Regions from separate parts of the Homo sapiens genome. Here region 1 is linked to region 2. The links are contacts of gene promoters, found by promoter capture Hi-C in blood cells and fetal thymus (Javierre and others, 2016). All regions are on one chromosome and are shown on one strand. The core of a region is centred on a gene start or on the middle of the fragment in contact, and the rest is flanking DNA. Distances in the headings are between cores, read along the strand shown. Region 1 has its middle 12 kb from the start of MIR1471. Region 2 holds the start of PRSS56 (serine protease 56).

Evidence for each region. The method cuts DNA at HindIII sites, captures the fragments that hold promoters and counts their contacts. A CHiCAGO score of 5 or more calls a contact.
Region 1: a contact is called between a fragment that was not itself captured here and the fragment with the promoter of PRSS56 in region 2, in 1 of 17 cell types (endothelial precursors). The highest score is 6.1, in endothelial precursors.

The regions. Positions count from the first base shown.
Region 1 is chr2:231,878,469-231,882,200 of GRCh38, forward strand. No RefSeq gene overlaps it. Among named protein-coding and RNA genes, the nearest start is that of MIR1471, 12 kb to the right of the region's middle. The HindIII fragment of the contact is 3,367 bases long and covers 1-2,975 here.
Region 2 is chr2:232,517,542-232,521,729 of GRCh38, forward strand. PRSS56 (serine protease 56) reads left to right here and starts at 2,847. Exons shown (of 13, transcript NM_001195129.2): 1 at 2,847-3,154; 2 at 3,780-3,887. The coding sequence starts at 3,058. The HindIII fragment of the contact is 25,422 bases long and covers 1-4,188 here.

The DNA of each region.
Region 1 (3,732 bases), core at 42-2,541, 640 kb before region 2:
CTCCTGGGTTCCAGTGATCTTCCGGCCTCAGCTTCCCAAAGTGCTGGGATTACAGGTGTGAGCCCCCATGCCCCGCCCTGTCTTTAAATTAGATTATTAAATTAAAAGCATTTCAAAGCAGAAAACAATGTGGCTTTTTAGACTAAGTTTCTGAACTTGTCTCTTGTTGGCTGAGGACAGTCACTTGTACAAAGACATCAGGATTCACACAGGGCCCTGCCCTGCCCCACCCTCTTGACCCCACTCAGGCCACCACCAACCCCTTAACCGACATACACACCTGTTCCTCTTTGGTGCAGAAGAGAGACAGTAGAATCAAGAGATGGGAAGTGACTCAAGGTCTCCCATCCACTCTCGTCATTTTAAAAATCCATGTGTGTAAGGATTTTGTTGTAATTCTCCTTCCAGGTTTCCTACTTTAGAAAATATACTCCGGGCTGGCCGGGCGTGGTAGCTGACGTCTGTAATCTCAGCACTTTGGGAGGCCGAGGCAGGCGGATCACCTGAGGTCAGGAGTTTGAGACCAGCATGGCCAACACGGAAAAACCTCGTCTCTACTAAAAATACAAAAATTAGCCAGATGTGGTGGCGGGCACCTGTAATCCCAGCTACTTGGGAGGCTGCGGCAGGAGAATCGATTGATCCCAGGAGGCAGAGATTGCAATGAGCTGAGACCGTGCCACTGCACTCCAGCCTGGGTGACACAGCTAGACTCTGTTACAAAATTAAAAAAAAAAAGAAAGAAAATATACTCCGGGCTTCTCCCACGATTATTTCCTTCCACGATAGGAGCTCCTTTTCCGGTCAGTCTACTTGCTGAGAATGTTAACTGCATACAATTATGATAGTCACGGCCTTTTTTTTTTTTTTTTCTGATGTTGATCTCCAGGTTCAGCGATTGGAGATTGGATTTCAAAGAGAAGAGACTCAAATGCAATAATGCTGCCAGAAGACATAGCTCCCTCCCTGAGTTGGAATCAGTGAGATGTGTGACAGGAAAGACTGTTGACAGTAGGGCTTGATATGTGTTTCAAGAGCGAAATGAAAACTATCCTCCATAGTTCTCAGCTGTAGATCACTAAACCATAGGATTTTCTTTCTTTTTTTTTTCTTGAGATGGAGTCTCACTCTGTTGCCCAGGCTGGAGTGCAGTGGCACGATTGTGGCTCACTGCAAGCTCCACCTCCCAGGTTCATGCCATTCTCCTGCCTCAGCCTCCTGGGTTGCTGGGACTACAGGCACCCGCCACCATGCCCAGCTAATTTTTTGTATTTTTAGTAGAGACGGGGTTTCACCATGTTAGCCAGGATGGTCTCAAGCTCCTGACCTTGTGATCTGCCCGCCTCAGCCTCCCAAAGTGCTGGGACTACAGGCACCCACCACCATGCCCGGCTAATTTTTTGTATTTTTAGTAGAGACAGGGTTTCACCGTGTTAGCCAGGATGGTCTCGATCTCCTGACCTTGTGATCCACCCACCTCAGCCTCCCAGAGTGCTGGGATTACAGGTGTGAGCCACTGTGCCCGGCCAACCGTAGGATTTTCTTAAGGAGCAAACACTCAGTGGGCATTGAGGGTATAGGCCAATGGGCTCTCTCAGATGTTTCTGGGATCAACTGGTAAAATCCCTTTACCCCAAATGGGGAAGCCATTTGGCATGAACGCTGATGTTTTAACTTTTTGACCCACTAATTTCTAGGAATACTATCCTAAGAAAATAATTCTAAACATGGGAAAAGCTCAATGTCCAATTATTTTCAATATAACTTTTATTTCTTTTCTTTTCTTTTTTTTTTTTTTTTTTTTTGAGTTGGAGTCTCGCTTTGTCATCCAGGCTGGAGTGCAATCTTGGCTCACTGAAACCTCTGCATCCCGGGTTCAAGTGACTCTCCTGCCTCAGCCTCCTGAGTAGCTGGGACCACAGGCATGCACCACCATGCCCAGCTAATTTTTGTATTTTTAACAGAGACAGGGTTTCACCATGTTGGCCAGGCTGGTCTGGAACTCCTGACCTCAAATGATCCACTTGCCTTGGCCTCCCAAACTGTGCTGGGATTACAGGCATGAGTCACCGTGCCCGGCCTATAACACTGTTATAGAGGGGCATAAAAGCAGAAACAATCGAGTTGTACATGTGCCTGGGGTTTGGTAAATATTTAATTACTTGTACTCTACATTGTTTTCTCCCATTGCGAGGAACAATGATTCACATAGGGCTTGTTTCTAGGATGCCAAGCCTGAGACAGGAAAGCTGCCCAGACCAAGTCACCCTGGGGTCTCTGTCCTTCCTCCAGGGCCTTCCTGCAGGTCTCACCCCACAACTACTCCCCTTTCTTTGTGTGTCTGCTCTAACCTTCATTTGTTCCTGCATGTGGCCAGGACCCAAGATCCATTGCCTCTTTCTTCCTAGCTAACAAAACCCTCTCCCTGTCTCTGCCCCCGCCTCCCTTTCTGGAATCTGCAGCCCAAATGTGCTGGGTGCTGATTCTCATGTTTTCTCCCCTCTCTCTGTAGCTCTGGGACAGAACTGAACATTCCTTCAAATGCCATCTGAAGACAAAATCAAAACTGCTTTCAAATTCTTTTAAAACCATTACATAAAATATAAATTGCTTGTCAACTTCATAAATAGCGAGAAGCAATGAATCGGCTGTCCATTTGCTAAATTCATCAAATTGGTCATTCAGAGAAACTGGTAAAAAGAATTATAAAAACGCTAAATATTGGCAAAACAGAAAATGACTTTTAAAATAATTCAAGAGAAATCAGTATAAACTGAAAGATTCTTGTATCGAATATGTTATGAATTTGGAATATCATTATATAAAGAGTGTGATCAGAAAAAAGCTAAGTTGACCCTCTCATTCTCAACAATTTAAACATTTCTTAAAATGCCAGTAAGATAGTAAAGAATAATATTAAATATGTAAAAAGCATATTCCCTAAAATGGTGACTGGAAAATCAGTGTACTGACTAAGCTTGGTGAGTTGGTCATGTAGTGACCAATTGATAAAAGATGGATTCTCGTGGAATTTATTGTGAAACCCACCACTGACTTGCCCTAAGAAAGTCATGGGTAGTTTCTCTCTCTCTGGGTGGGTTTGTGTGTGTGTGTATATGTGTGTGTGTCTCCAACTCTGTCTGTCTCCCTGTATCTCTCTGTCTGTCTCTATGTCTCTATTTCCCTCTGTCTCTCTGTCCTCGTCTGTCTCTGTCTATGTCTCTATCTTCCTCTGTCTCTCTTGGTGTCTCGCTCTGTCTCTTTGTCCCTCTCTCCTCGGCCCCTCCCATGCTGCAGCTCCTATCTGCACACTGGCTCCTGTCTTCAGTTGCCCCATTCTTCAACTGGCCAGGGTGTCCTGCCTACCCATTCCCCCTCAGAGCCTAACTGCCCCCTACCCTGCCACTCAGTGCCCCATTTACTCAAGGACTCTGCTCAGGCCTGTGTCCGAATTTCAAATTCTTTTTTTTTTTTTTTTCGAGACAGAGTCTCGCTTTGTCGCCCAGGCTGGAGTGCAGTGGTGCAATCTCAGCTCACTGCAACCTCAACTTCCTGGGTTCAAGTGATTCTCCTGCCTCGGCCTCCCGAGTAGCTGGGACTACAGGCATGTGCCGCCACACCTGGCTAATTTTTGTATTTTTAGTGGAGACGGGGTTTCACCATGTTGGCCAGGCTGGTCTTGAACTCCTGACCTCAGGTGATCCGCCTGCCTCAGCCTCTTAAAGTGCTGGC
Region 2 (4,188 bases), core at 1,597-4,096:
AATCTCATGCCTCAGCCTCCCAAGTAGCTGGGGTTATAGGCGCCCACCACCACGCCAGCTAATTTTTGTATTTTTAGTAGAGATGGGGTTTCACCATGTTGGCCAGGCTGGTCTCAAACTCCTGATGTCAAATGATCTGCCTGCCTCGGCCTCCCAGAGTGCTGGGATTACAGGCATGGCCACCGCATCTGGCCGTCAGGGCTGATCGTTCATTCATTTAGCGCATGTGTGAGTCGGACTCTGGTCTAGATGCTGGGACAGCACGGAGCCGGACAGACAAACCCTGCACCCTGTCATCCAGCTGGGCACCGAAATGCGAGCCTCTCCCTCTTACCAGCTTCCTTGATTCCTGATCAAGGAATTCAAATTCCATGATTCCTCCTGGGACCTCATCTGTCCTTTCCAGCTTGGCTGGGGAAGTGAGGGAAGCTGCTGTGCTGTGCCAAGGCCCCCCTCCCCTGTCCTGTTTTCCTATTCACTCGGGGAAGGGTCCATAGAGGATGGCATGGATTTCGGCAGGTCCCTGGCATTGAGCTGCTCGCTGGGAGGAGGTCTGGGGCCAACTGCTGGTACCCTTTTAACTAGACTATAGGAGACTGAGCCCCTTATAACAGCCAAGAATCCCCATCAACATCCTGCAACATAGGAATAAATACTCTAAAGAAAATACAAAGTCCGAGGCCAGGTGCAGTGGCTCATGCCTGTAATCCCAGCACTTTGGGAGGCTGAGGTGGGCAGATCACTTGAGCCCTGGAGTTCCAGACCAGCCCGGGCAACATAGGGAGACCCTGTCTCTACAAAAAATTTAAAAATTAGCCGGCATGGTGGTGTATGCCTGTGGTCCCAGCCACTCAGGAGGCTGAGGCAGGAGGATCACTTGAGCCCAGGAAGTCGAAGCTGCAGTGAGCCGTAACTTGTGCCACTGCACTCCAGCCTGGGTGACAGAGTGAGACCCTGCCTCAAATATAAAGAAAGAAAGAAAGAAAAATAAAGAAAATAGAAGACGGTTGTGTTACAGAGAATGAGACTGCAGGGATAGAGGCCTGGAAGTCTCTCCATCACATTCCAATGGAGGAAGCAGACAGGGAGTGAGTGCACGCTTAAACAATAATAAACAAAGTAATGTTATGAGGTGGGATTTTAATGTGGCTTCTAAGAGGTAACCTGTGCGAGCGGATGAAATTGAGCCAGACTTGGTTGGGTGGGTCCATACAGAAGAGAGGAGAGGGCTCGGGACCCAGCTGTGGGCACAGGAATCAGAGAACAGGAGAATGGGGTTAAGCAGAATTGCAGTCCACGCAGAAAGTTCCCTCCATTTTCTTTGGCAGTGGCTGGATTCTCACCCTGCCTCCCACCTGAAGACCAGAGGCAGGAGGGAGGCCCAGGGGCTCTGTGTGGGCTTGCTGTGGCCTGGCCTGCGTGACTCGGCAAGAATGGGCAGGACATACCTTCCTGGAGGCATGCCCTAGGGGAAGCGTCCATAGAGCTGCCTGGGTGGCTGGCTCCATCCCTATCCCCTCAGCTTGGATGCAGTAACCTGCAGGGCAGAAGCTCTGTTGAAGCTCTGTCGAATCCTCACAGAGGCCTGTGAGGATTTCCCACCCACCTTCTCTGCTCCTGGGTCCCCTGCTTTGGTGGCTCTTACTGGGAACCGCAGGCGATCTTCCTTTGGACACTGTCTCTGTTTATGCTAAAATTCAAGCTGTGTTGAGCTAATGCCTTATCTACCAAGATTGTGGAGGTCATGGATAAAAAGATACCCTGCAAGATGGACAGATACTCTGGTGAATAGAGTCCTTTCCAACTTCACCAAATTCACTCACCAGAATCATCCGCAGACAGTATTTTCAGAGCATTCCTGAAGTAGAGGTATTGTCATGGCGAGGTGCGGTGGTAACTGGGGAAAGGGCTCCTTAGCATGGTGTGCTGGTCACTGTGGAACAGCTGGCTCTCCAGGGGGAAAGAGCCCCGGGTCATAGCATTTGCTGATAAATATTCCCACCAGTTCACCTCACATGAATTGGGGAGCCTGGGCAGCGCAGACGGGCACTATCCTACCCCAGGTGGTAACTCAGTCCCAGGAGAGCTGTGTGGCCCTGCCCATGAGACTCCAGAGGACTCCAGAAGAATCCCACTGCCAGATCAGGGTCACAGAACAATGCCGGACAGGCAGAGCGGGCACTGTGCAGGGCCAGGGGGTCTGGGAGAGCGTCAGAAGCTGCTAGGGCCTGTCCTCCCGGAACTGGGCCACTGTGGGCCTTTCATCTCCCGCCTCCCTTTCCGCGCCACTCCTGCGGCTGCCTGCCTCTGCCCCTTCCCACCCCACCACCCCCAGTGCGGCAATTACGGCGCTAATTAGGCTGCTTTGATCATCTTTAGAAATGGCCACATTGGGGAGGGACTCTGCCAAGCAATTAGGGGCAGAGGGGTGGGGAGCTCCAGGGCTTCCTCAGGGGGTGGGGCTGCTGAGAAACCCCAGACACCCCCTGCCCTCCTCCCTCCAGGAGTGTCTGCCCCGTCATAGCTGTAAGCTCCTCAGGGGGTAGAGGCAGATGGGGATCCCCCCCCATCCCAGCCCTGGAGCCAGGGCCCGCCCCCACCCAGCAGCCCCCCTCTGCCTGGCCTGCAGCCCAACCGTCAGCCCTTCTTCCCTGTCTTGGCCCCTTTGATGGAGCCGCAGAAACAAGGGCTCCTTTGACAGAAGGGGGGCTCGGAGCTGGGATGATGAGACTTCAGAGGTGAAGGTCAAGCCCACTACCCCACTCCTCCCCCAGTCTTGGCCACCCTCCCGTGCACCCCTCCCCCAGGCTGTCCTCTATAAAGACCCTGCAGCCCCATTCCCCTGTGGGCTCCTAGGAGTTAAGGGCCAGGTGAGGGCTGACCAGGGAGGCGGGTAATTTTGATGTAAGAGAACGGGGTCAGATGATTTGAGGGACAAGAATTCAGTGCCCGGGGGCCGAAAGGCAGCAGAAGGCGGGCACCAAAGGATAGGCACCCGGAAGGTGGACTCCGAGGAGGAGAGAGGACAGGGGTCTCTCACCCCAGCTCCTGGTCACCATGCTGCTGGCTGTGCTGCTGCTGCTACCCCTCCCAAGCTCATGGTTTGCCCACGGGCACCCACTGTACACACGCCTGCCCCCCAGCGCCCTGCAAGGTAAGTCCAGGCTGGCCCGAGAGCCGCGGGGTTGGGAGGAATGTAGAGGAAGTGGGACCCTGGGCGGGCGGGGACAGAAGAGCTTGTCACCCCCACTCATAAGGACCTTTGGCTCCTTCTGCCCACCCTGCTGCGAGAAGGGGCCAAGAACTGAGATATAGGTGGGAGAGGAGGGGTGTGGCGGGAAAGGGAAGGGGAGCTGTTGAGCATGCCGAAAGGAATGGAGAGAAGGCCCCAAGAAGCAGAGAGAAACGGCCCGGGGCAGCACCCTGCCCTTGGCTGTCCCGGCCGAAGGTGGGCCACTCAAACACAGCTACTTTCAGTCAATAAAGCTGAGTTCTGCGATGTCTGTATCTTTGGGGTGGTGTCTTTAAAAAAAATTGTTAAGGAAAAGCACCTTTCAAAGATCCCAGTCCAGCTCAGTTGAATTAGGGAGACATCTTGGGCTGAGAACCTGGGAGCACGGGCTCTGAGTGCTGGGCCCAGCGTCCCCGGGGCTCACTTGCCTCCTCATTCTGTCCCAGGCTGGTGGGTCTCCCGAGGCAGGGCTCAGGGCTGGGGCCAGGAGGATGAGGCTGAGGCTCTTCCCCAACCACGCATGATTGTGTGCCCCCTGTCCCAGCAGTTCTGTCGGCCCAGGGGACTCAGGCGTTGCAGGCAGCCCAGAGGAGCGCCCAGTGGGCAATAAACCGAGTGGCGATGGAGATCCAGCACAGATCGCACGAGTGCCGAGGTGCCCACCCTGCCCCCCGTGCCCCAGTGAGCTTGCTGCCTACCCTGGGCCCATTCTGCTGCCTCTGTCCCTTCCCTTCAGTCTTCACTCTCCTCTTGGGGGCAGAGACTGTGTTGGGCCGCAACCTAGACTACGTTTGTGAAGGTCTGTCTCTCCGAGTGGAAAGGACACGCTAGGCTTGGGGCATGGCCTGTGCAAAGGCAGGGAGGCGGAAACACTCTGGGCTCCTGTGGTGACCAGGAGAAGTTCATGGTTGCTGAAATAGAACCCGTGTGGGCTGGAGGGCTGAGCGCGAAAGGAG